Linked DNA regions of Homo sapiens: all the other regions are linked to region 2. Evidence: promoter capture Hi-C in human tissues and cell types (Jung and others, 2019). All regions are on one chromosome and are shown on one strand. The core of a region is centred on a gene start or on the middle of the fragment in contact, and the rest is flanking DNA. Distances in the headings are between cores, read along the strand shown. Region 1 overlaps WDR25 (WD repeat domain 25). Region 2 holds the start of BEGAIN (brain enriched guanylate kinase associated). Region 3 overlaps WDR25 (WD repeat domain 25). Region 4 overlaps WDR25 (WD repeat domain 25).

What was found. Contacts are between HindIII fragments. The study calls those that stand out against the background at their distance.
Region 1: a contact is called between a fragment that was not itself captured here and the fragment with the promoter of BEGAIN in region 2, in 4 of the 25 tissues and cell types used here (dorsolateral prefrontal cortex, mesendoderm cells, spleen and 1 more).
Region 3: a fragment that was not itself captured here is called in contact with the fragment with the promoter of BEGAIN in region 2 in 2 of the 25 tissues and cell types used here (mesendoderm cells and spleen).
Region 4: a contact is called between a fragment that was not itself captured here and the fragment with the promoter of BEGAIN in region 2, in 2 of the 25 tissues and cell types used here (dorsolateral prefrontal cortex and spleen).

The regions. Positions count from the first base shown.
Region 1 is chr14:100,417,903-100,423,864 of GRCh38, reverse strand. The region is part of intron 2 of WDR25 (WD repeat domain 25); the gene reads right to left. Among named protein-coding and RNA genes, the nearest start is that of WDR25, 44 kb to the right of the region's middle. RefSeq lists enhancers at 3,234-3,733, 3,734-4,235. The HindIII fragment of the contact is 3,546 bases long and covers 1,025-4,570 here.
Region 2 is chr14:100,584,611-100,590,654 of GRCh38, reverse strand. It overlaps BEGAIN (brain enriched guanylate kinase associated), which reads left to right and starts at 3,238. Exons shown (of 7, transcript NM_001385089.1): 1 at 3,238-3,406. The coding sequence starts at 3,365. The HindIII fragment of the contact is 7,942 bases long and covers 1-6,044 here.
Region 3 is chr14:100,400,069-100,406,081 of GRCh38, reverse strand. The region is part of intron 2 of WDR25 (WD repeat domain 25); the gene reads right to left. Among named protein-coding and RNA genes, the nearest start is that of WDR25, 27 kb to the right of the region's middle. RefSeq lists an enhancer at 1,691-2,192. The HindIII fragment of the contact is 4,009 bases long and covers 1-3,853 here.
Region 4 is chr14:100,444,114-100,450,880 of GRCh38, reverse strand. All of the region lies in intron 2 of WDR25 (WD repeat domain 25), which reads right to left. Among named protein-coding and RNA genes, the nearest start is that of WDR25, 71 kb to the right of the region's middle. RefSeq lists an enhancer at 2,923-3,423. The HindIII fragment of the contact is 5,305 bases long and covers 1,318-6,622 here.

The DNA of each region.
Region 1 (5,962 bases), core at 1,548-4,047, 170 kb after region 2:
AAGATGTAGATGCTGCTTCCTGAGTGCCTGCAAAAGACCTGGGCTGACTCAGTGCACAGACAAGATCTCATTTCCGCAGCACAGGCTCTGGTTCTCAACACAGATAAGAATCCAAACACCCCTTAGGAGGGAAGCAGAGAAGATAATGTTCTCCAGCACGCTGCAAATAGTGTTCAGAGTGTTCAGATGGAACCAGATTAAATTAAAAGTAGTCAAAAGTTCCGTTTTCGAGGAAATTCATCATAAAATTCTTGATCTGACATGGCTATTTTCCAGATGTTTTTGAGTGACGTCAGCAGGTTACCTTGATAATTATAATAACCGAACATTTTGAATTATTTGGTTCAACACGTTTCCTAAACACTCCCCAATGCCAGCCTTTGTGCCAGGATCTGAAGGGACTTTCCTCTACAACCTCACAGTACGATCGGAATAAGGTGTGTCTGACTAATTGGGTGCTATGTGGCCCAAGGAGGAAGCCCACAGCCAGCCCGTGGGTCCAGGTATGCCCACACTGGGGCCTGCCAACCACCGACAGCTTCCATCCTCAGTGGCATTCTCCACAGAAGCTTCATGCACACGCTATTATAACAGGGGAGATCAGGCTGGGGGAAATCAGTACCAGAAGTAATTAAATGACCAAGGAGACAGCAAGAGCTGGAAGAGAGACACATATTGGCACAATTTCTTATTACTATTATTGTAATAACACATACCAAGAACAGGGCTCCCAGACAAAGAGAAAGCAAGCTTCAGGGCATTTTTAAATTGGGCAAATTATAGAGAGGTGAGAGATTAAATGAAAATCTATCACATTACAAATACAGCCTGCAGTTACTGAAATCATATTTTTTTCATAAATGAGTCATACCAACAGTAACTCCAAGACCTTCATAATAGTTTGCAATAAACTCTGTGGGACGCTCGCCACTTCAATCCTGAAAAATTGACATCATAAGCCAAAAAATAGCACTTTGACGTTTCTGTCTTCTTTAGGGCACCCAGCTGGGAAAGGAAATAAAACACCACCCCCAGGATGGAGCACAGGGCCTGGCCTCGCCAGTGGGCAGGCAAATTAAAACAATAAGATCCTATTTCACACCCACCAGAGGGGCAAAAAATCAAAATCCCTAACAGCAAATGATGGAGAGGGTGTGAAGAAATGGGAACGCTCAGTACGCTGGTGGGCGTCCACGGAACAAATACTCAGGAGGGGAAGCTGGCAACATGTGGTCGCGTCAAAGAGGGCCATCATGAAGGCCCGTCAAGTCACCATGAGGGGTCCCAGCCCCAGAAGCTTTCACAGGGGTGTACAAGGATGTACATCTATAAATGCCAGTATGAAAACAGGTCTACCAACTCTGTGAGGCTCGTCCCATTGAAGGTGGAGTCCAATCTCCCTTGCCCTGAATGGGAGGCAGCCTCAGTGACTTGCTTCCAAAGAACAGAATGAAGTCAACAGATGCTGCCTGCCTTTGAGGCTGGGTCACAGAGCAATCTGGTTTCAGTATAGGGGCCTCTCAGAACACTAGCCCCTAGAACCCAGCTGCCATGGGATGAGGAAGCCCAGACCACATGGAGAGGCCACATGTAATACTCCAGCAAACAGCACAGCCAGGGTCCCAGCAGACAGCCAGAATCACTCATCGGATGCTGAGCGAACAGACCTGCAGATGCTTCCATTTCTAGCCTTTGAGCTGCCCCACATGATACCAAGTGGAGCAGAGATGAGCTGCCCACACCAAGCCCTGCCCAAACTGCAGATTCAGAAGCAAAATAAACATTATTGTTTTAAGCTACTAAGTTTAGAGGTGGCTTATTAAACAGCAATAAAAAACTGGAACACATGTTCACTACAATATTGTATGCAAGAGACAAAAAGTAAAAACAACCTTCCAGGAGTAGGAGAATGAGTAAATAAACTTGAGCTTATTTATACAGTGGAATCCCACACACCAATGAAAATTGAATGAACCAGATGGATAGATGGATGGATGGATAGAGAGATAACAGAAAACATAATGTTGACTGTTTTGCAAATTGCAAAAAACCACAGAGTGTAATAACATGTACATAAACCTTTAAAATACAAAAGTATTACATATTATTTATGTCATTCATAACATATGCAGGAAACATTTAAAAGCATGCCCACCAACGTCAGGGGAGTGGCCACTAATGGAAAGGGAATGAAGTAGGGTTTTAGCTCTATCTGCCATATTTCATTCCTTACAAAACAAAAAAGAGGTACCCAGTATAAATACGGAAAAATGCTAATAACTAAAACCTGGTGGTGCATCTATGGAAGTTTATTTTATTTTTTTGTTCTTTTCTGTAGGATTAACATAGGTCACAAATCACTCATTTCTACTCAGCCAAGGTTAAGCTTGGTTGACACAAGGGTAACAGTGTGATAGGGCAGGGGTAAGTCAGCCTGCTTCCTCCCCTCTTCTGTGAGCTTCCCAAAGGCCACGACTGTGGCTCACAACCCCCTGCTGCATATGGTAAGTGCTCAATAAACCTCCCTTTGCAAGACTGACTGGGGGACCAATAAGCCCAGGAAGATTCTGTCCCCTTCTCTGGTTCATAGGAATCAAGGAGAGAGCAAAGGATATTTTCTAACCCAAGGGACTCTGTGAACTTGAAACACAGGGATGAAAGACTATCCCATTAATAAGAAAGAGGAGCTCTTTCCTAGTCCTGATGCCTACTCTTCCTCTTCTCTGTCTGGACACTGTTAAAATTCCAGTTTTGGCCGAATGGAATGTCACAAACACAGGCAGTTGCAGACGAGGGACATGCAGGAAAAATAATCATATTTCTTCTTATAATGACCCAAATGCAGGAGATACACTGTTTCAGCAGACAGAAATAAAAAGACTCATCCAGCCAGAGGTAAGAAAGGAAGACTGAGATGAGGAAAGCATAGCATAGACAAAGGCCAGCAACATCCAGGACAGTGGGACAGAAAGATGCAAACAGCCAGGGTCGCTCACAGCATGGCTTCACCTGGGTCCAGCCCTGGACTCTCTCTCAAGTCTCCTGTTCCCTGAGACAAACGAGTCTCTCTCCACCTGTTGAAGCCACTCGAGTTGGGTTTCCTGTTATCTGCAGCCTCATACACTCCTAGCTAATACAGTGGTGAACACCACATCATGGGACAGCTGGGCATCTTTATTTTCCTTTTTCTACCTTTTTCTGTTCTTCAAATATTATTACTATAAGAAGATTTTAATATATTTTTAAAAAGTTATTCTTAGTCTTGGCTAGCAATTCCAACCCTAGCAATAGAGTCTAAGAAACTAACTGCACAGAAGCTAAATATTATGTACATAAAGATGATCACTGCAGCACTGCCTATAAAACAACAATAAAAAACCTGCTGGAATAAAAAGCTCAATGTTCAGCAACAGGGATACAACTAGCAAATTGTGGTACAACCACATGATAGAAGATGACTATCCTGAAGGCTGTAAAAACAGGGATACTGAGCTTTAAAAACAGGATCCAAAATGATATATGAAAAATCCCTATAGAACGATAAAAAAAAAATGTGCTTACAAGTGAAAGGTAAAACACAAACCAAAAGTTACTTGCTGTGGGCCTGGAGGTCCAAGCCAGTGGAGGGAAGTGGGGGAAGGGGTTGCCAGGGCCTGCGGCCCATGTGCAGATGGGGGCTGTGGAGGCAGTGAAGGCCTCCTTGCCCAGGAGACAGTAGCTTCCAGGCTTCCAGATGCCCCTGGAGATCCAGGCAACTAGGCCTTGTGAGGGGCCTACAGGGTGGGAGGCTGCTCATAGCCACAGTTACAGACTGACCACCAGGTGGGCCCTGCGAGCACCCGTTCACTCCCAGGTCCACTCTCACACAAGCCCAAGGCAATGGGGCAACCTGATACAAAGAACCCAGGGGAAATTCCACATCATGTGCCCCTGCATACCAAATTCTTTAGAAAAGACAATTTCCCATTAATTTCAAATGTGCGTGTTCTCTGGGGATTTAATACAGGGGGAGTTTCTAAGCATTTGCATCTCTGTCCCATAATATAAAGCATGGGCCAGGGGCATGAACTGCCTGTGTTCACAACATCATCCTATTTGTGACAGATTAGATAGATTAGACGCGAGGTTCCACCTTCCTACCTGTGATCTTTCTCTGCTATAAAAACAACTCTTGATGTCAGTGTCTGAAATTACTTGCTCAAAATTATAATTATTATATTAATGTGGCTAACTGTAAAACTATACCTCGGCTTTCTAAATGAAAACACCAGGCTGCCAAAACTTCTAGAATAATTTAAACTAGTAATGTGATAAAGACTATTACATCTCCAAAGACATTACCATAGAATTTTCCCCCCATCTCAACAAGAAAAGATGCTGGACTATATTGGAAGCCTCTGTGAATTGCCTAATTATAGTTAATAAGGTCATCATCTGCTCATGAAATAGCCTTTTCTGTTTTCCAACAGAGCATTCAACAATTCTAAACACTGTTCATCTGAACACTCCCCGAGAAAGCTATCACATCACAGGGTAGACAGCAGGAGAAGGAAGAAAGAGGTAGGCGGAAGGAGCGAGGCCCCAGGAAGCCGCAGAGAGACCCCTGTGGAGACGGGAAATAAATTTTTTTTTTTTTTTTTTTTGTGATGGAGTCTTGTTCTGTCGCCCAGGCTGGAGTGCAGTGGCGTGATCTCGGCTCACTGCAATCTCCGCCTCCAGAGTTCAAGCAATTGTCCTGCCTCAGCCTCCCAAGTAGCTGTGATTACAGGTGTGCACCACCACACCTAGCTAATTTTTTTTGTATTTTTAGTAGAGATGGGGTTTCCCCATGTTCGCCAGACTGGTCTCAAACTCCTGACATCAGGTGATCGCCCACCTTGGACTCCCAAAGTGCTAGGATTACAGGCGTGAGCCACCACGCCCGGCCTAGAAATAGAACTTACTTAGAGCCCATCATTTCAAGGCCAGGGTCTCAGGTGAGACAATGGGAGTCACAGGAATTGTGGGTGTAGGGACCACTCCACACCCCTGCCTGGCAACCTGAGTCCAATGCCAGGTCCCTCCCGGAGTAGGTGTGGCGTGAGTAGGACCCCCCCCCGCCACCGCCACCCCAAACTCCCAGGGATGTCCCATAAACTCACCTTAGCATAGACCCTGACCGTTGTGGCTGAGACTGGCAGGCTGCACTACTGTGCTGTTGTGCAAATTTTTCACCTTTTTTTTTTTTTTGAGACGGAGTCTCGCTCAGTCGCCAGGCTAGAGTGCAGTGGCACAATCTTGGCTCACTGCAACCTCTACCTCCCGGGTTCAAGCAATTCTCCTGCCTCAGCCTCCCAAAAGTAGCTGGGACTTGTACAGGTGTGCACCACCACGCCCAGCTAATTTTTGTATTTTTAGTAGAGAAGGGGTTTCACCGTGTTGGCCAGGATGGTCTCCATCTCTTGACCTCGTGATCCGCCCACCTCGGCCTCCCAAAGTGCTGGGATTACAGGCATGAGCCACGGTGCCCGGCCAAATTTTTCACTTTCAATAGTTGCATGAAAGTCAGAAAGGCCAGTGCTAGGTGACATTGTGTGTATCATGTACAAAATCACAGGCAGTGTGGATATAAGACGTAAGAAGGCAGGGCACAGTGGCTCATGCCTGTTATCCCAGCACTTTGGGAGGCTGAGTGGGGGGTGTGGATCACGAGGTCAGGAGTTCGAAACCAGTCTGATCAACATGGTGAAACCACATCTCTACTAAAAGTACAAAAATTAGCCAGGCGTGGTGGTTGGTGCCTGTAATCCCAGCTACTCAGGAGGCTGAAGCAAGAGAATTGCTTGAACCCAGGAGGCAGAGGTTACAGTGAGCTGAGATGGTGCCACTGCACTCCAGCCTGGGCGACAGAGCGAGCCTCCGTCTCAAAAAAAAAAAAAAGACATAAGCAAACTAAGAACAACCTTCATGAGAACCTATGAGC
Region 2 (6,044 bases), core at 1,989-4,488:
CTTGGGGTGTTTTTGGCAGTGTTTAGTGTTAGGGTTAGGGCTGGGTTGGGGTTTGGTTTAATGTTCCTTTTGGGATTTGGTTTTGGGTTGGCGTCTGGGTTAACTTTAGCGTGTGGTGTGGGTTGAGGTTATTGCTTTCTGGCAGGACAGTGTTGGGGTTAGAGTCGGGTTTAGGGTTCATGTTACTGTTCAGGCTAGCATTGGGGTAGGGTTAAAGTTTGCTTTGGTTTTGGGTCCCATTAGAGTTAGGTTTAGCATTTGATATAGGTTGGAATTTGGGTTAATATTGCAGTTGGGGTCATTGTTAGATACACACTTGGGCCAATTCAGGGCCTTCTCACCACCTGTGGAGGGCAGCTGTAGCCCGATTCTGCAGGGGACTCCAGAGTTTCAGTTGGAGCACCTGTTGTTTGTGGGAGAGTGGGAAGATACCTCTCACCTTCCCATTCTCTAGGGCTCATAGTCAGAACCCTTGCTCAATCTGTTCTTGTGGGTGGGGATTGGAAGATGAGGCAGGGAACTGGTCAGCATGGCTAGCTGATGCTGGAGCCCCTGTATGTGGCTGTCTGCGGGTGCCTCACTGTCAATGACTTCCCTGACGTGCTGTCCTTTCTTTTATACTCAGCCACCAGGGCCAGAAGCCTGGCATCACACCAGGCTATTCCTATCTCCCCCACCTCCATCCATCCATGCATTCTTTGGCACATTTAACCATGAGCCCCAGTGTGGTGCCACTTCCTGCCCTGCTCCCTGACCACAGTAGAGGACCACGCATCCCAGCGGGGAGATTGATGTCCACATCAACAGACAGATCAGATAGCTCTGGAACGCAGTAAGAGACACGCAAAAAACAAAATAGGGCAACGAGATTGAGCCATGGGGATGGTGATGTCAAACAGAGTGGTCCGTAGAGGTCTGAATGAGGGCAGGGGCCTGAGGAGAGGGTCCTCCATGGCCCCAGGGCATCACCTCGAAGTCCTGCCACTTTCATCCCTTCTTCCCAACCCGGCTGAAACCTTGCCTCCTCCAGGAAGCCTGCCTGATGCCCCAGGCTCTGCTGCACTGACTGTAGTTTCCCCATCTGCAAAAAGGGGCTAGTACCACTTCCCCTACAGGGGCATTGCAGGGATGCTCCCAGACCCACAACCAATGCCTGCTTTCTCTCCGCCTTCCTAGCTTAAGGGGGCTGGAGTGGGAAGGATAGAAGAGAGGGCAGGGAGGGTGGGGACGGGAGGTGCGTGCAGCATGGGGGAGGGGCTCTCCTGGGGCCTTCCCAGGCAGGCCTGAGCTGAAGCCTGCAAGCTGCTGGAGCTGAAGCAGGAGCCGCCCCCACCCCACCCGCCCCTCCCCCGCCTCCCCAGCCATCTGTGGCGTTGGCAGCAGCAGTGCCAGGGCGGGCGGTGAACATTCTGGCACCATCTGAGCAGGACCAGCCTCTGGGGAAGGGCCGCAGCCCAGGAGGAGGCAATGTGGGCAGAGCCCTGCCTGTACCCCAGGTTCCACATCCCCCATTGGTGTTTGTCCCCTTAGGGACTGGGGAGGGAAGGGACACTGGAGCTGGCAGGCTGGGCCTCACTACCTCTCACAGGATGCCTCCACTGCTGTGTGCTGCCTGAATGGTGTCTGAACCTGAGAGGCCAGAGTGGAGGTCAGGGAGCCTGTCCCTACTCCTGCTGGGGAGACTAAGGCCCCCTTGAGCAAAGAGGCTGGTCCCGTGGTGCACACCAGCGACGGTTTGGGCGAAGTCTGTCCACGCTTCGCCCAAACTGGGAGAGCCCCGCCCTGAGCTGCCGCCTCTCATTTTGTCTTGACTGTGGTGGGGTGCACTTGGAGGCGCCTCCCTCTGTCCATTGGTTACCCAATCATGTCCCTGGGACCTGAGAGGGAGCAGAGACAGGACTTTGCTTGACACGAAGTGGCTCCAGTCAGCTGCTGGTTCTTTTGCTTGTCTCCTTTTTTTCTGGGTTTCCCCTCTTGCCTTGCTATCAGTGCCTTTTCTCAGCACTGACACTGCCTGAATGTAGCAACCTACTCCCCAGATTAAATGAGAGAGCGTAGAAACTGCAAAGCATACAACATACAGCATATAAGGATGGTGGTGATGGCAGCTCAACAGTGGGAACTCAGTGTCCCCAAACTGTACACTTTAAAAGTGGTTAAAATGGTAAATTTTATGTTTTCCATGTTTTCCACAATTAAAAAACAAAAATATACAAGGTACTCATTCGCAGCATCTTCTAATCTGCCATGTACTTGGAAATGATATAAGCATGTGTGAACCATGAGCCCATAGGTCCCGAGGGAGGATATGAGCGAAGCACACGGGCTTTGCCAGCTCTGTTTCCACCACGCAGGACCCTCCCTGGCTGCCAGTGCTCCTCCCCGGGTTCCCACGCTGGCTGCTGCTGGGCTGGCTGGGATGGAAGACCCTCATGTAGCTGGCACCCTCAGGGCTGCCCCTTGCCCGCTCTGGGAGGAGAGAGGAGGGTTCACGCTGCACCTTTACCAGGGTAGGACTGGCCAGCCTGGGCTCTACCGGGCAGGTCGGTGGGATGCTTCAGACTGGAGGGATAGGCAGGGGGCAACACTGGTCCTCCTGAAGCCACCTTCCCTTCCTGAGAGCTCCTTGGGGAGAAGGCAAGCCCTGGAAGCCACCGACTGGGGGCTCGGGCAGAGCAAGGGCAGGGTAAGGGGCAGCTTGGCCAGGAGGCACCCTTGGGAGCCAGGGTTTCCTCATCTGTAAAATGTGACTCTGCGAGGGCAGGAGCTTGGTTTCACTCGCTACTGTACCCCCTGGGGCCTACAGCAGGGCTGGTTGGTACACACTAGGTGTCTAATAAATGTTGAGGGATTGAATGGATGGACCGATGAAAAGGTTGGGCAGGTCATTACTGACAGCCTCTGGGTTTCAAGGGCCCATTCACTCTGTCACTCACCTTCGCGCCCGTGCATTAGTTCTCTCATTTATTCATTCCCCCCGCCCCCCCAGCCCCGCATGCTCTACCGCACTCATTCATTCACGCGCTCAGCCATTCAAGCTGGCGCGGGTTCATTCATTCCCTGCCCCTCTGCCATTCCTCGCCTGGCCCCCGCGCACGCCGCACCCCCGCGCCCCTGCCCGGCCCTGCGCCCACCACTTGCGCCCCGGCCGGGCGCTGCCGGGAGGACGCGCGGGCTCAGCCGCGGCTGCGCGGGGCCGGGGCTGGCGGGGAGCCGGGCTGGGGGCGGGGGGCGGGCGCTCCCTGCGGGAAGCCGGGCGGGGTGGGGGAGCCCCGGCCGCGCCGGCTCCCGGCGCGCTCGGCCTCGGAGGGGAGGGGGCGGCGGTAGCGGCGGCGGCGGTGAGCGGCGCGGCTGCCCTGGGGCCATGTGGACTGGCGGTCGCCGGCCGGGCCGGCTGCGCCGGGCGGTGAGTACCTGCGAGCCGGGAGGGCAGGGCGCGGGCGCGGGCGCGGAGGCGGGGCGGGCGCCACCCACGCCTGGGGCGGTCCCTGCTCAGCGCGGGAGGTGGCCGGCCCCCCGCCCCGCTCCCCTCCGCGCTGCGCCCCCGCCGTGGAGGCTTCACTGGCCCGGGAGGAGCCGGGCCGGGTCTCCTGGGAACTGGGCACTCTCGGGTGGGGCGGGGATGCCCAGCCTCCGCGCGCCGCCGGGAGCGCCCGGGTCCTATCGCGGGGTCCTTGCGCCCTGACACGCGCGCCCCTGCGGCGGAAGGAAAGGAGGGACGGGTGACCAAGGGCGCGGCCGGAGGACTGGGGACCCGCCGCTGTCCCGGGCGGGTGGCGAGGGTGCGGGCAGGCCTGGACCCGCCTGCGTCTGGGGGCAGGGCCAGCCCCTGCTTGGGAGGCCGGAGAAAGGCCCGGGAGCCGGAAGGAGGCTGGACCCGGGGCCGCCTCATTGAGCGTTTGCAGCGCGTGGGCGCGCACGAACCTCGGACACCACCATCCCATTCAGTACCTCGCGGCAGGTACTATCCTCCTGCCCCTTTACAGGCGAGGAAACTGAGGCTCAGGGAGGCCAGGGCCTCGCCCAGAGCGGCTCAGCCGGCGCGCTCACCCTCCCTGAGCCCCAGCACGTTGGATGGGAATTTCTGCCCCAGCGTTTCCGCTTCCTGCTTGGTTTAGAGGTGTTTCCTTCCTCGTCTGTGCCCCACCCCATCCCCAATGTGGTTTCCTCAGGGCAGGAACAGCGTGGGCGACGCGCTGGAGTCTCCTGAGCCGGCAGAATGGGAGCAGAGTGGGCACCCGGGAGCGGGGCCGGATGGATAGGGAGCACTGCACGTGCAAAGTCCGCATGGCCAAGGTCGGCCGCCAGTGCAGACTGGGGGTCCAGGCCCTGGGGGTATGGGTGGGGCGGGGTCTCCACAGCCAGGCTCCGTCGGAGGCCCCAGTGCTCTGGCTCTCTGGAGGCCATGGACAGGTTCTTTTCCTTCTCTGGACCCTAGTTCCTCTGCCTGCCAAGAGCAGCAGAGACCCCCACTACTCCCAGGGCCAGGCTCCCACGAGGACTGTGGGCAGAAGCCCCTAACAAACTGCGGTGTGCAGCCCTGCCAGGCTGGCCTTGGTCTTGCCAGCAGGGGCAACTGGCCGTTGGGGGTGGCTCTGCCTGGCATCTGTGACACGCAGGGCGGGGAGACGGCAGAGAGGGCCCCAGCAGCATCCTGCAAACCCTTAATTTTCCCGACTCTCACTATAATCAGGGCAGCTTGGAAAAGCAAGCACTGTGGCAGATGCGGCTCTGCCCGGGCTCAGCACACGGGCTCTGGGCGATGGGCGGCTGCGCTGCCGCCAAGGGCCCTCCCCAGCTTTTGTCTCATATTTATAGATTCCAAGGCTCCGCGTTCCGTTTGTCGTCAAAACCTGGAGCTGTTCGCACCTGGGAGCTGAGTGGGGAGGGGAGGGCTGCCTAGAACCTCAGCCTGGAGGATGAGTTTTCCATGCGCTGGGGTGGAGTAGGGGGACACCTGTCAGAGCCCAGGCCTGGAGAGAGGAAATGAGCCCTAAGCAATCTGGAAGATCTTCCATCCACTCTCCCAAGACTTGGGCGCAGGGTCTGGCCCACATAGCTGCCATTTATGGAACGCCTGCTATGTACTGGGCCCTGGATCAGCATTTCCACGCATCATCTCCACGGCAACACTTTGAAGGAGCTTCCCTACTCCTGCAGGCACTCCTGATGCTGAAGAGTGGATGGATGGATGAATGGATGGATGGATGGATGGATGGATGGATGGATGGATGGATGGGAGGGAGGGAGGGATGGATGGGAGGGATGGATGGATGGGAGGGAGGGAGGGAGGGATGGATGGATGGGAGGGAGGGAGGGAGGGATGGATGGGAGGGAGGGAAGGAGGGATGGATGGGAGGGATGGGAGGGATGGATGGATGGGATGGATGGATGGATGGATGGGAGGGAGGGAGGGAGGGAGGGATGGATGGATGGATGGATGGATGGATGGATGGATGGGAGGGATTGACTGAAGCCCATGAGTCCATGGCTATTGGACACAGTCCACAAATCATTACCCAGGGTCCCAGGAGGTGGGGTCCAAGGGCTGAGTAGTTGCTGAACAGATGAAGGGGTCAAGGTGTGTTACAGGAGCCTGGCCCAAGGCCTGAAGGTGATGGGGAGAGTGTAGAGTGTTCAAGTCTCAAGACTTAGAGAGGCTGTGTCCTGCTGGAGTGTGGAAGCCATGGCGGTGGGGAGGTGTGGCTCCTCCCCCTAAGGGAGGTAAGGATCCCTGGGACAGATGGGTGGGTGACCCTAGGACTCGCCGTGTTGGTCTAGAATCACCCCGCATGGTTCTCTTCTGACTCCCCTTCCTGCCGCAGAGCTGGTCGCTAGCCTTAGTGGAGAGGCCTGGACGGAGGTCTGCAGCCCTGGGTTCTGGTTCCTCCTCTGCCGCTGACTCACTGTCTCCTCTCTAGGGCTCCGTATCAGAAGCTTAACACCCATTACAGTCAGGGGAGTGACTTCTGTGGCCTGAGAGCAGGCATCAGATTGTAGCCTGTGGTGGGAGAAGCTGGCCAGAGGTGTCTCTATTGCTTTAA
Region 3 (6,013 bases), core at 600-3,099, 180 kb after region 2:
AGCCTGTACCTCTGTCCACCACACATCCCTTCCCACAGCCCTGCTAACCATCTTCTCCGAAGGCAAGCCCATGGAGCACACCTCCATTCTGAGCTGGACCCAGGCCCAAAAGTCAAGAAACGGATTGATTGCATCATCATTTTGAGCCCCATGTAGGCACCTGAGAAACTCAAAAGCCTATGCACAGCCTGGCCCTGTCTCCAAATGGCCAGTTACAGAGAAAAACATCCAGGTGGGTTTCCTCGGGAGTGGCGTTTCTTAAGCACTAATATCCGCCCTTCCCCAAAGAGAACTTAAAGCCAAGGCTCCTCCAAGCCTAATCACTGAGAGCTGCTGCCAGGAAGGGCGACTGACACACCAATCCATGCGCCACAGAGCTAGGCCCTGCAGGCCACCCACCTCCCGATGGCCAGCTCTGCTTCTGCCCTTGCATGTTTCTGTTAGTGCTGGCCTCCAAGCAGGCTCCCAAACAAAAACAAAAGCAGAGTGCAGCCCAAAATGAGATTATAGTGAAGACATATAACAGAGTTACTGATCCTCCAGGGGGCCCAGCCTCCCTCCCCATCCCCTGCACCCCAGCCCCATCCTAGGCCCCAGGGTGCCTATAAGATGGGGCAGAGAGGCCAGGCATGGTGGCTCATGCCTGTAATCCCAGCACTTTGGGAGGCTGAGGCGGGTGGATCACCTGAGGTCGGGAGTTGGAGACCAGCCTGGCCTACATGGACAAACCCCGTCTCTACTAAAAATACAAAATTAGCCAGGCGTGGTGGTGCATGCCTGTAATCCCAGCTACTCAGGAGGCTGAGGCAGGAGAATCCTTTGAACCCGGGAGGCAGAGGCTGCGGTGAGCTGAGATCATACCATTGCACTCCAGCCTGGGTAACAAGAGCAAAACTCCATCTCAAAAAAAAAAGATGGGGCAGAGAGAGGATTCCTAGGCCCCTGAGCTCAGCATCCTTGTTGAAGCTTTGCCCAAGACTTAGGCTCCTGGTTTGGCTGCCAGCTGCCACCTTCCACAGATAAAAAATTCAATTCTGAGAATGAGGGGGTGAGACTGGAAGAAGCCTCTGAGGTGGGGGCAAGAGGACAGACAGATTCTGCGAGCACAGGAAAGACAGAACTAGCATGGGGACACAAGGTAGGAGGGTTAAGAGGAAGGGCCCAAACACACCAGTGCCAAGTTCAGACAATGATACAAGGAATAACCATGTCACTCACAGGAGGGATGGGCCCAGCAGAGGCCAGAGCTGCAGGGGAGAGGGGTGCATGCCCCCATGTAACAGCAGAAGGAGAATGCAGGCAGGAGGAGGGAGGGGTGTATACTTGGCATTTCAGAGTCAGGATCATGGCCCTAGAGAAACAGAGTCAGGTCAGCATCTCCCAGTCAGCAGACTGAACTGGGACAGAACATTTGCACACACAGTGAGCCCCATGGGAACGCCAGGCCTCCAGCGGACCCTATGCCTGGGAGGAAGCACTACAGAGATAAGGATGCATTTGCACTTCCCCCAAGGGCCTGCTGACCCTCCTGGCCCACGCAGCCCACAGGTAGGGGCCCCTGTTTCCCAGCCAGGAACACCAGAGGGGTGTGCGCTCTGCCTCCCATGGTGGTAAGGTCAAGGTGAAAACCACATGAGAAATGACACTGTCAGTGGTAAACCCAGCTTTTGAGACCAGGCCCTCACTGCCATGAATAACACTGATTCTACAGGAAAATGAGAACCCAGGTTCCAAACATCTGCTTTACACTTACGGGCTGGCGTGGGAGAGTGGAACGAACATAGACTTTGGGAGCAAACAGCCCTGGACTCCATTCCCAGCTCCGCACCTTGCAGCACCGTGCCCTGAGGCCCTCTCAGCCCCAGGTCCTTGGACGCAGGTTGGGGCATGCCATCGGCACCTCAGAGGTTTCAGGGGGACCAATCATGTGCGTATGGGGCCCAGCACTGGGCTGGACACATGGTAGGATCTCAGCAAATGGGAGTTCTAATTGCTACCAAAAGTGAATGTCAGGGAGCAGCCACCTTGAGCTCTTGTGATACTGGGTACAGCCCATGATAAAGTCCACACCAACATTGCCTCATTCTACTCAAGGCACTTCATCAGGCAGGCCAGAACCCAGGCAAACAGGAATTAACTTAATGCTCTGTTTGGCAGTACTTTCCCTGGGTCCATCATCCATTCTTATTCCCCGGAAGCTGCCAGCCAAGCAAACTGGAATATTGATCACTGCAATCATCTCGATGGAAGTCTGAGGGCCAAGCACTTCATGTGCATTTCAATTAGAAGAGTGGGCCTGTCATTCTAATTCTGCCTCATTCCAGCCAGCTTCACTCTAAGCAACAAACGGGCTCCTAAAAAGTTGAGTTCATCAGCAATCTATTAATGGAATCACACCTCCACACTGATTTTACATTATCATTGCCAAATGATACATATTCATTTTCCATCTTCAAAGGAACCAGAGTTGCTGTATCTGTGCTAAGCTCTGGGCACTACTCAGGGCTGCTATCTCCTGACCATACACAACAGCCCTGCGGGCTAAGCATGCCAGCACCACTTTACAAGAAACAGTGGGGGAGAAGCAGAGGACCTTCCCCAGACCTAGGGTAGAAAGAGCCATGGCTCAAACACAAATCTGCCCAGTTCCTTCCCAGGAGTCCCAACGATCCCAATAATTCCAAAGGCTTTTGCCTCCAATTCACTCTCCCAACATTTGGCCATATGTGCTTTGGTTGGAAAGGCAGCCAGGTCATTCTAATTCAAGGCAGCCCAGGCCCGCTTTGCTTCCCACGGCAAGGCTGATGCTCCCTAGGATCCAGAGATGAGCCAGATGTGGCCTCTCCAGATCCAGAGCATGGGAGCACGACTCATTTTTCTCTGTACATCAAATACCAATTTGTATTTCTATTCTTAAAAAATCAGTTTTCAAAGAAATAAAGAAGAATGGTCTCTTCCCCGAGAGGAAGCTTACTTGGTAGAAAGGATAGGACACTATCCATAAGAGAAAATTTAATTCACCCCAACAACCATTTGTTGGACACTGCTAATACAGAAGCCCTGAGGTCAGCGAGACAGGGTCAAGAACGTAATGAAGCTCAGCTGTCAACCCCTCAGAGAGGGCTGGACCCTCAGGAGGACAACCTAAGGGTGTCCTCCTAGCAGATCTCCCTAAGTGCTGGCTGGCTGCACGGGTCTCATCCCTATGGCATTTTATTTCGTGCCCCTGGCTCTGCTCCACGGTGGTCACGAGGTGTTAGTAATTTCTCTGCTTAATGACTTCCTCTGGAGCTCACAGGGAGAGAAAACCGATTCAGAATCATGAATGCTCATTTCAACTACTCTGCAGGAAGAGTTTGGGGGACACCTGTAATTCTCTCATTACCTCATTTAGCTACAGTTAGTTTGGAGATCACAAAACTACTCAGCTTAAAAGGGCCTCAGAGAACACAGTTGAGCCTCTATGTTTGCCAAGAGAGGAAACCAACACCCAGAAATTGCCTGGCCTGCCGAGGGCTCAGCTGGAAAATGACAGAACCCCATTTGGACCCCTGGCCCCTGGCTGACAGCGCATCACTCTGTCCACCCCCATGTCCCACCTGTCTTGTTCCTGCCTATGACAATAACCTTGCAAAAGAACGAGTCACTCCTAGCCCAGATCATGCCTTTAAAGCCAAGGGAATTTTTTGATTTTTTGGTTTTGTTTTTTTTTTTTAGGAGAAAGCAATAACAAAGAAAAGTGGGGGAGTGTGTCTTAAATAAAGATTGTCCCTCTGACGTGCTGGATGGAAAGCTTTTGGGTGTGAGCTTTATGATTATACCGAGGTAATAATGGACGTCACATATCAGGAGAGAAGATGTCACTACCTTTTGACAGAGGACACTTGGGAAGAAAAAGTTACAAACAGAAAGCTTTCCCTTTACCTTCTGAGGGGTAGAATAATAATTCACCTGAATTGTCAAGATCTGTTCCAGGAGCATTTGTGCAATAAAGAAAGGTTCAGAAAACCTCCTGTGCCATTATGGGCATTCATGGGAGTAGCAGTAATAACTGGGTTTTAAAAGCCTCGCACGATTGAGCAAAAGTGCTTTGCAGCACTTCCTACTCCTTCATCAGCACCTGCTAATGCCAGTTGTACCCCAGGAGGTGCACCAAGGAGAATGTAACTGAGCCCCTCCAAAGTGTCCATGCTAAAAATCACATCCAAGCCCTCAAATTCCACAGAGAAAATGGCAAGTGCCTGCATACACAGAATGAGCAGAACTAAGACACGTGCAGAGCCACCCAGGAGCAGAGAAGCCAGGTGCAAGTTCCAGGGGATGAAGTGTCCTCCCCACTGCCTCTCAGGCTCTCTGGTACTTTTCCATTCCTCTGTATGAATATGTTTTTCTTCCTTTAGGATCAGAAACAAAGTAAAAAGAAGCCCAAAAAAGAAAAATGTCAACCAACAAATTCTCTCTGTAATTCTCTTACTACCACCAGAACCTGCTGGTACAAAGCACTGGGGAGGAAGAAGTGATCAATCCCCAGGCAGGGGAGCCTCCTGGAGGGGATCCAACCTGAGGCAGCCCTGAACGGCAAGGACTTGCCTCCTGGGGACATGGGCAGGGTGCTCAGGGCCACCCCTGCCAAGGAAGTCTAAGACACCGGGGAGGAGGCAGGGGACCAGCCTCCACGACACTCAGACCTCAATGGACAGAACTGGTCTGAGATGCCCGAATCAACCAGAGAAGGTGATAAGCAAGGAAATGCCTAATGAGGCAGTGCAAGGGGGATAGATGTGGACTGAGACCACGAGGAGGCCGGCAGAAGCAGAAACTGGGCCTCTCTGGCTCTGGCTCGGTGGGGCAGAGGCTGCAGCCACGGGGAGGGGGAGGTCTCTCCCGCCCCAGGAACAGCGAGCAGCCGCCGACGCGCCCCGGAGGCCCAGAGGAAATATTATTGTGAGACAAAAACTGAATTATGAAATCCGCAAGCAATAATTAGTTTAAATTACTACTTCTACTTGAATAATTAAACACGCTTATTTTCACTCACTGATGTTTTATTCATTACCATACATCTTTCTTGAAAATTGTTTTTAACGTGAACATTCTTTTATTTGCAAAGATCCCACAGAGATTTACTATGCTAATTTCAAACCTTTCTTCTAAAATAAAAACAATAACAAAAACACTCCTAGATTATCATCCATTAGTGACTACTGTGTGGGGTCCATTATCAACTTAAGTCATAGCAACTGGATGGAAATACTGTGGGTAGTTGTAAAGTTATTCACACACCAAAGCTTCCTCCCTTTAAAATTCACGACTGAAAGGGCAATATTTAAATAAGCGCAAAGTGATTATGAAAACAAAAAGACCCCAGTGCAGAAAGACCACTTAGCCACAGATGGAAAGTGCCTTTTGCTTTTTATCATGCCCTGTATTAATGAAAATGTTTTTGCATTTTCACAAATAATGTTTGAATTTTATAAGTCTTATTTTTACACACTGGAGCCAGGATACCCAGAAGCACAGTAATAAGGGCTTAAGGTTTTTATTAAACAAAGTTACCTTTGGGAATAAGTACTAACTTAAATATAATCCATGAACTAACTCTTCCTTGCTGGGCTATTAGCTGGTGCTGGCTGAATGGCAAAACTCCAAATCCTAGCTAATGCCAACAAGCTGGGCCTGAGTCAAACCCGGAAAGGTGCAGCAAGGCTGCCACCATCATAAACCAGCTCCACTGAGGACCAGGCGCCAACAGCCCTCCGAGGGGACCACAAAGCCCAGTTAATGTGCAGCCATGTGGGTTGTACGGCAGAACTGACAACAGCTGCACTCACTGGATCACCATGACAAGTATCAAGGAATGTCACTGCGGTACAGGACACACATGCCCCAGCTCTGTCACTTAAAAAGCCACTCCTCCAGAGGAGGAAATGTGCTTTTCACACTCCTGGTGCCCCACAGCACCTGACCCCATGTCTCAGAAATGGCCAGTCCTCACTGAACATTCATTGAATTA
Region 4 (6,767 bases), core at 2,721-5,220, 140 kb after region 2:
TTGCATGTCACATCTTTCCTCAAGCCACAGGCCTCTTCCCTCCTCAGTGTGCTTAATCTGCACACAGTAAGAGGGGCTCTGGACTGCTCCTACTCTCTTATCCTAAGACATACTCCCTCTCTCAATAACTGCGGGGAAGAAGAGGTTGTGACCTGGTTAGAATGAGTAGTAATAATGTTATACCTTTATTTTTGTGCATCACTTTCCACATTCATGTGCCCCTCACACAAGCCCACAAGGTTGTCAGGGAAACTGTCATCTCCATTTTACAGATGGGCAAAGAGAGGCTTAGAGTGACTGAGTGACTCTCATTCACTCGCTGGGTTTGTTCAACAGATATTTATGCCAGTCTGCTATCTGCCAAGAAATTTGCTCACTGCTGGAACTGCTAGAGAACAAAATAGCTCATGAGAGTCTAGTGGAAGAGAAAGATATTAAGCAACAAACAGCTCTTCTCACTCAGATCAGTGCTGTGAAGAACAGAACTGGCTCTAGGAGATGACAATAGCAGGTGGAACAGATTCACCTTGATTTCCACTGGGGAGGTCAGCAGGCTTCTCCAGAGGAAGGGGTGAGGTGGGGAGGGCCTGAGCAAGGCATAGTCACACAGCCTGGGGGACTGGCGGCCAGTGTGGCTGGAGCCCTATGTGAAGGAGGAGAGCAACAAGAGTGGGCAAAACGCAGGTCACCCAGGGCTCAGCAGACACTTGCAAAAGTTTGGAATTTTTCCCTCCATGTAAAATGGATGGTTTTTTAAGCATTGGAGCAAAGTGATAAGCAGATTTTTGTTTTTAAAGAGCATACCAGCTGCTATAGGAAAGGCCAGAATAACACAAGGAGACAAGTGAAGAGGGTGCGCAGAGGGGAGAGAGCAGGCCTGGGCCGCCGGACTGTGGACGCACTGAATGCCCAGTTTAGAGAAGAATCACTGGGACTTACAGGTGGATTAGAGGGGAGTGAGGCAGAAGGGGAGCAGGGGAGAAGGCAGGGTGTCGTGGCACATGGCGTAACAGCAGGAGACAGCCCCCTTCTGATCACACCATAGCAGAGGCAGGGAGAGCCAGAACCTGGGACGTCTCATCCTATGACCGCATGATGGTGCCACCTCTACAAGTGAGGGGAGGCGTCACCTAAGCCAGGACAAGGAGCTGCGTTAAAATCACTCTGTCTGCTTCATGCACGTGCAGGGACTCAGGGATGCTCTCAGCAGTTACTGAGTGGGGGCTCCTGGAAGCATCACCTGATTTAGTTTTAATGGCCTCCAACTTAATTCCTTCTGAAGGCCCAGTCTGGGTGGAGGCAGAGTGTCCTGGCTGTCATACATAGCCATGTCCCAGGGCACAGGCCTCCTGACCTCAGCTTTTCCAGAGACCCAGCTGAGACAGCCTCTCCCACCCCAATGCAACAGCCAGCCAGGGCAGGGCCCCGGAATAGAGGTGACCACTCTCAGAAAGTCAGGTTGCTCATGTCCTGCTGCCATGGCAACCGCCACAGGCCAGTGCCAGGCTGTCTCTGCTCCCAAAGGAGGCCTCCCGGGGCAGCCCTGTAGCCAGGCTCCAACAGGCCCATACCATTATCGAAGCCACGGTTCTCCCTGGCCCTCCCTGATGGGGCTGGGATGGAAGTGATCGTTTTCATCAAGATTTCTCAATTTGCATAAAAATGAGTACTAACCCTTTGCTCCAAAAATTCCATCCAGAAGCCCAGTAAAGGATGCTCTCCGAGCCTTCTAGCCATAAGGCCTTATCTTGCCAAGCACATCCCAAGGGCTTAGGGGGTTGTAAACAGCTACAGTGGGAAAGTCAGTGGCTGACTCCGGAGGCCCCACTCACCTGCCCAGCCTCATCTCCCATCACGATCGTCCTTGCACGCCACTTTCTAGGTGCGTTTCCCAAACTCACTCTGTTCCTTGAACCTCCAGCCTTACATATGCCTTCTCTCTGTTTGAAGTACATTCCTCTGTCTCCACCTGGTTGGCTCCTACTCTTCTCTCCTGTCTCCCATGAGACACTCCTTCCGCCAGGAAGCCCTCCTGACTCCCATAAGCCAAGTTAAGGTCCAGTGGATGTTCCCATAGGTCTCCATGCAGCTAGGTAGGCTGCGTTGTTTTTCCACCTCCAGTCATTGCCCTGTTCTTTTATGTGTAATGTTTTCCTGGTTGTGAAAGAAACAATGCATTTTTATAATGACCCCATCACCACCACAAGGCTATGGTTTATCTAGACTGCCACATGCCCACATTGCCAGGTGTTTACGCAGGTGACGGAGTCCTGGCAGTGACCCTCACTCCTCTGAGATAGTGTAACTGGGCCACTATACAGATGAAGAGACTAGGGCTCCCAGTAGGAAGGAAGTTGCCCAAGGTTACAGGACAAGCAAGTTAGCAGGCCCATGACTCACGGCCAGCATGCATGTGCTTCTCTTTCTGGGGCGCTTCTCACCTGGGGCCCAGGTGTCACCACCCTGGGCAACGGGTAAGATGCTGAAAAGGAACAGAGGGGACACTGGATCTAATCCTTGCACTCAAGCACAGGTAAGCCCTGCAACCTGCTGGCAGTTTCCACAGTATTTTTCTATGCAGACATTGTTTCTCCTGAGATCCTACTGAATGTACAATCTGGCATCCTGCTTTCTTCACTTAACATTTTCCAATGTTCCTAAAATCTTCTTTTTTTTTTTTTTTTTTTGAGACGGAGTTTTGCTCGTTTTCCAGGCTGGAGTGCAATGGCACGATCTCGGCTCACCACAACCTCCACCTCCCTGGTTCAAGTGATTCTCCTGCCTCAGCCTCCAGAGTAGCTGGGATTACAGGCAAATGCCACCACGCCTGGCTAATTTTTTGTATTTTCAGCAGAGACAAGGTTTCTCCATGTTGGTCAGGCTGGTCTCGAACTCCCGACCTCAGGTGATTCACCCACCTCGGCCTCCCAAAGTGCTGGGATTACAGGCGTGAGCCACCACGCCCAGCCCATTTTTTTTTAAAGTGCAGTTACTCATCACTTTCCAAAGAAAAGAGCACAGATTTGGCAGGGGCCTTGAACTTGACCATTTTTCCCTGGTGCCAATAGCTCTACGCACACAGCAAGAGGATTTAACAGCCTGATTCAGCACGGTGGGAAGGAGTAAATTGCTTAAGTCTGGGAAATACATTACCTCAATCTCGCAAATGGTTTTTGAAAATCATTAGGCCACAGAAGTGTAATTCTGTAGGCCTGGCTTTTGCTGCCTCCCCCACCCTGCTCAATACCACCCACCTCACCATGTCTGGTGCCACCAAACAGAGCACTCAAGTCTGGGTGGCAGCTGGCTGAGCCCCTTGCCCCAGATTACCCCAACCTCCCTCCCAAAAGACAAGTAAAATGTGACCTCAGGCTCCCCAGTCTGTTCAAGCCAGAGACCGGAAGAGAGCTGCAGACACGTGGCAAAGAGCAGCCCCTCCTCCACTGCAAGGCTGGCACGCCCACGCCTCAGCACACGTGCCCCCCTACTGCCCAGCACTGCTGCTAACTCGTGGGAAGTTGTCTTTGTGGGCTCCAGGTTGGTGTCCAAAATTAAAATCGTTGTAGATTTATGGGTCTCCAGTCCATTTCTGAGAAACAATCCCCAAGTCTAATCACTTCTAAAAAAGTCACCTAAGGACAAATGGAACAGCTTCCAGTAGGCTCCAGTTCACTCAACACTGCTCAGCATCCAAGCTCACGCGCAAACCTGGGGTTCTTTTGGGTTGAATATGCAAGGTTCCCTAACAAACTGTACTTAGAATGCATTAGCTGTTATTATAAATGGAGCCCAGAAATTTTCTAATAGCGTTGAATTAGTCTGTATAATTACATTACTTCAATGAGCATGAAATTATCTTACCTATTAAAGTTTAACAAGTGATTCTAAAGGATTAAGAAGAATCATGTGATGGGATAATAATGATGACTCCGTAGCACTTAGTCAAGGATTTCTGTGGCCACAGACGATAATTTTCAGAAGCTGCTTGGCCATGTAACTAACAGCCAGGAATCCCTGCATCCATGCGGTGCTGACAGCAGCAAGAACTCACAGGGTTAGGACATAACCACGCCCACAGAGCCAGGAGTGACCAGCGACACCTGCCCAGATCACAGAAGCCCCTCTATCGTTGGCTGATCTGCCTGTCACTCCTCCTCATTCTTACTCACAAGCTTTCAGACACAGCGTGTGGCTTCTGATATTTCTAAGAAACAACACAACTGCTGATTAATTTCAAGCTGCTGTTTTTGAAGTGAATTATGATTGGTATTGTGTTACTTACCATGTGTTGTGATTTATACATTTTTACTTTTTTTTTTTTTTTTTTTTTGAGATGGAGTCTTCCTCTGTCACCCAGGCTAGAGTGCAGTGGCATGATCTCAGCTCACTGCAACCTCTGCCTCCCAGGTTCAAGTGATTCTCCTGCCACAGCCTCCCAAGTAGCTGGGATTACAGGCACCCACCACCATGCCTGGCTAATTTTTGTATTTTTAGTAGATGGCCTAACCATGTGGGCCAGGCTGGTCTCAAACTCCTGACCTCAAGTGATCCACCTGCCTTGGCCTCCCAAAGTGCTAGGATTACAGGCATGAGCCACCACGACCAGCCCATTTTTACTAATTCTGATCATCAACATCAACAATGCTACTTGTCATGGCTCTGTGTCACTTGTGACCACCACCGCAGGACCCCAGGGGCAGGAGCTCACAAAGCCAGAAGGCTCCTCCTCTATACTCCAACTGAGCTTCATGGCTACCCTTCCCCACCACGCCAGGAGGAAGGTGGAGCACAGCACTGAAACAGTCAGGGGGTATAATATCTGGGGCAAACACCAAACTCAGCAGTTAACCCAAAGGCTTGGGGTCATCCTGGGTTGAACCCTCTTTTCATCTACCAGGATGGCCAGCCTCAGATCCTTTACCTCAACACTGGTATGGCCGGGCCTCGCCCCGTGTCTTCTTGGAGGGGCAGCATGGGTTGGAATCACAGGGTTCTAAACCCCAACTACTTCTTCCAACTGTGGTGGAAATGGGCTCTGAAAGGATGGCCGATGCCTGAGTCAGGGTAGAACAAAGGTTCTTTCTAGCCTGGTCCTTATTCTCCCAGACGCTTCCAAACACGTTCTGTGCCCACCTCCTCCTACAGGGAGGTCGGAAGCTAAATGAAGCAACCTGGGGGTTTCAGAACAAAAGCCTGGAAACTTCCTACTAAAATCCAAAGACAGGAAGCCTAGAAGCCATCCTGTCCCCGTCTCAGCCCTGGCAACAAGGAGGCTTTGATTCACCTCTCAGGCCCCTGAGTCACATGGCTGCAGCAGGTCTTTCCTTCTCCACTCCCAGCCTGCAGCCTATGCAGCTTCTCAGTCTTCTTTTCACCTTTACAAAAGGATGTTTTGAAACCCTTGGTGTGAGTTTTATGATAAACTAGTTTAAAATATTTTTTGGAAGTTGTGGAGTAAATTATAGAAAAAGACCAACAAAGCTAAGGCTCTGAGGCAAAATTTTATTACCACCTTGAAGGAGTTCAGCATCATTTTTCTTCCAGTAAACATGTAAATCTGGTGTCCAAAACAACACAAGTTACTTTATTCCATGGCTTATTTGCATGATTTTTAATGACAAACAGTAATAAAGTGTAACCGAATCCCCTAATCTTAAATTCATCCAGACTTTGCTGCAGAGAAATGCATTGATAATAAATTCTAAAGTTTTGTCTGAGAACTCATAGGGTAAAACTCTGAGGTTGCTGGGAGATGTGAACAGAGTGAGTGAGAGGGTGCCTGGTGGGGATATGGGGTGACAGCAAGAACACAGAGGCCCAGTTCCATGGGGGACTTCAGGGTCAGACACCCCTGAATCCTAACTCTGTTCTGCCCCTTCAATCCATGTGGCCTGGGTAAATGACCATTGTCTCTGAGCTTTCATTTCAACAGCTAGAAAACGGGGCTAATCTTCCCACTTTCCAGAGTGGTGGGGAAGCTTAAAGGGAATTAAAGTGACGAAGTAGAAGGTGCCACAGAAGGCACTATCAACTTTGGTTCTTCTCCTGTCCCTCACTGCCTGCTGCCAAGAGAGCGCAGTGTCGGTACACACCAGGCTCAAGTCCCTAAGGACGTGAGGAGGACGATGAGCTGTTTCGCCGCTGCCTCCTTCTAGACACAGCCCTCCAGATGAGCCACTAGTACTGTGAATGCACCAACCATCCACCCTCTGTATAGTCCCAGGGGCCTGAAACCAAAGGCCCAACCCAGAACTTCTGCAGGCCACGGAGGGGCATCAGAGGCACTTCATCTGCCAGGTACGGTGGGGCCTGGGGCCTGGGGCCTGGGGCCAGTGCAAGAAGGAAGTCACCTGGACCCAGACGTGTCCATGGAAAGGTAGCAGCTCTGGCATGGGCCTTAGCTAGGGTAAGGGGGACCAGCAGGCCTGACGGGGCCCCATACACCTGGATTCTACCCTTCACTATATGCTTTAGAGATGTCCATCCTGCGGTTCCCTGCAGCAGCCTCCCTGACCCACAACTAAGTGGCACGGATGCACTCGCAGGCATGCCCCTCAGTGGCTGCAGGGCTCCCGGGAGGACAAACTGCTACCTTCGAAGTAGCAAAATTTCCATCAGCACCAGTGAGGCTTCAGCTCCCTCTGACCGCCAATTTCCTTCCATTTTCACGGGTTCAAATGTTTCCTCTCAGCCTCAAATTCAGCCAGACACAACTTAGTCCTTCTCAGGCATGCCCCGCCAGGTGTGCCCATCTTCCTGTGGGCCAC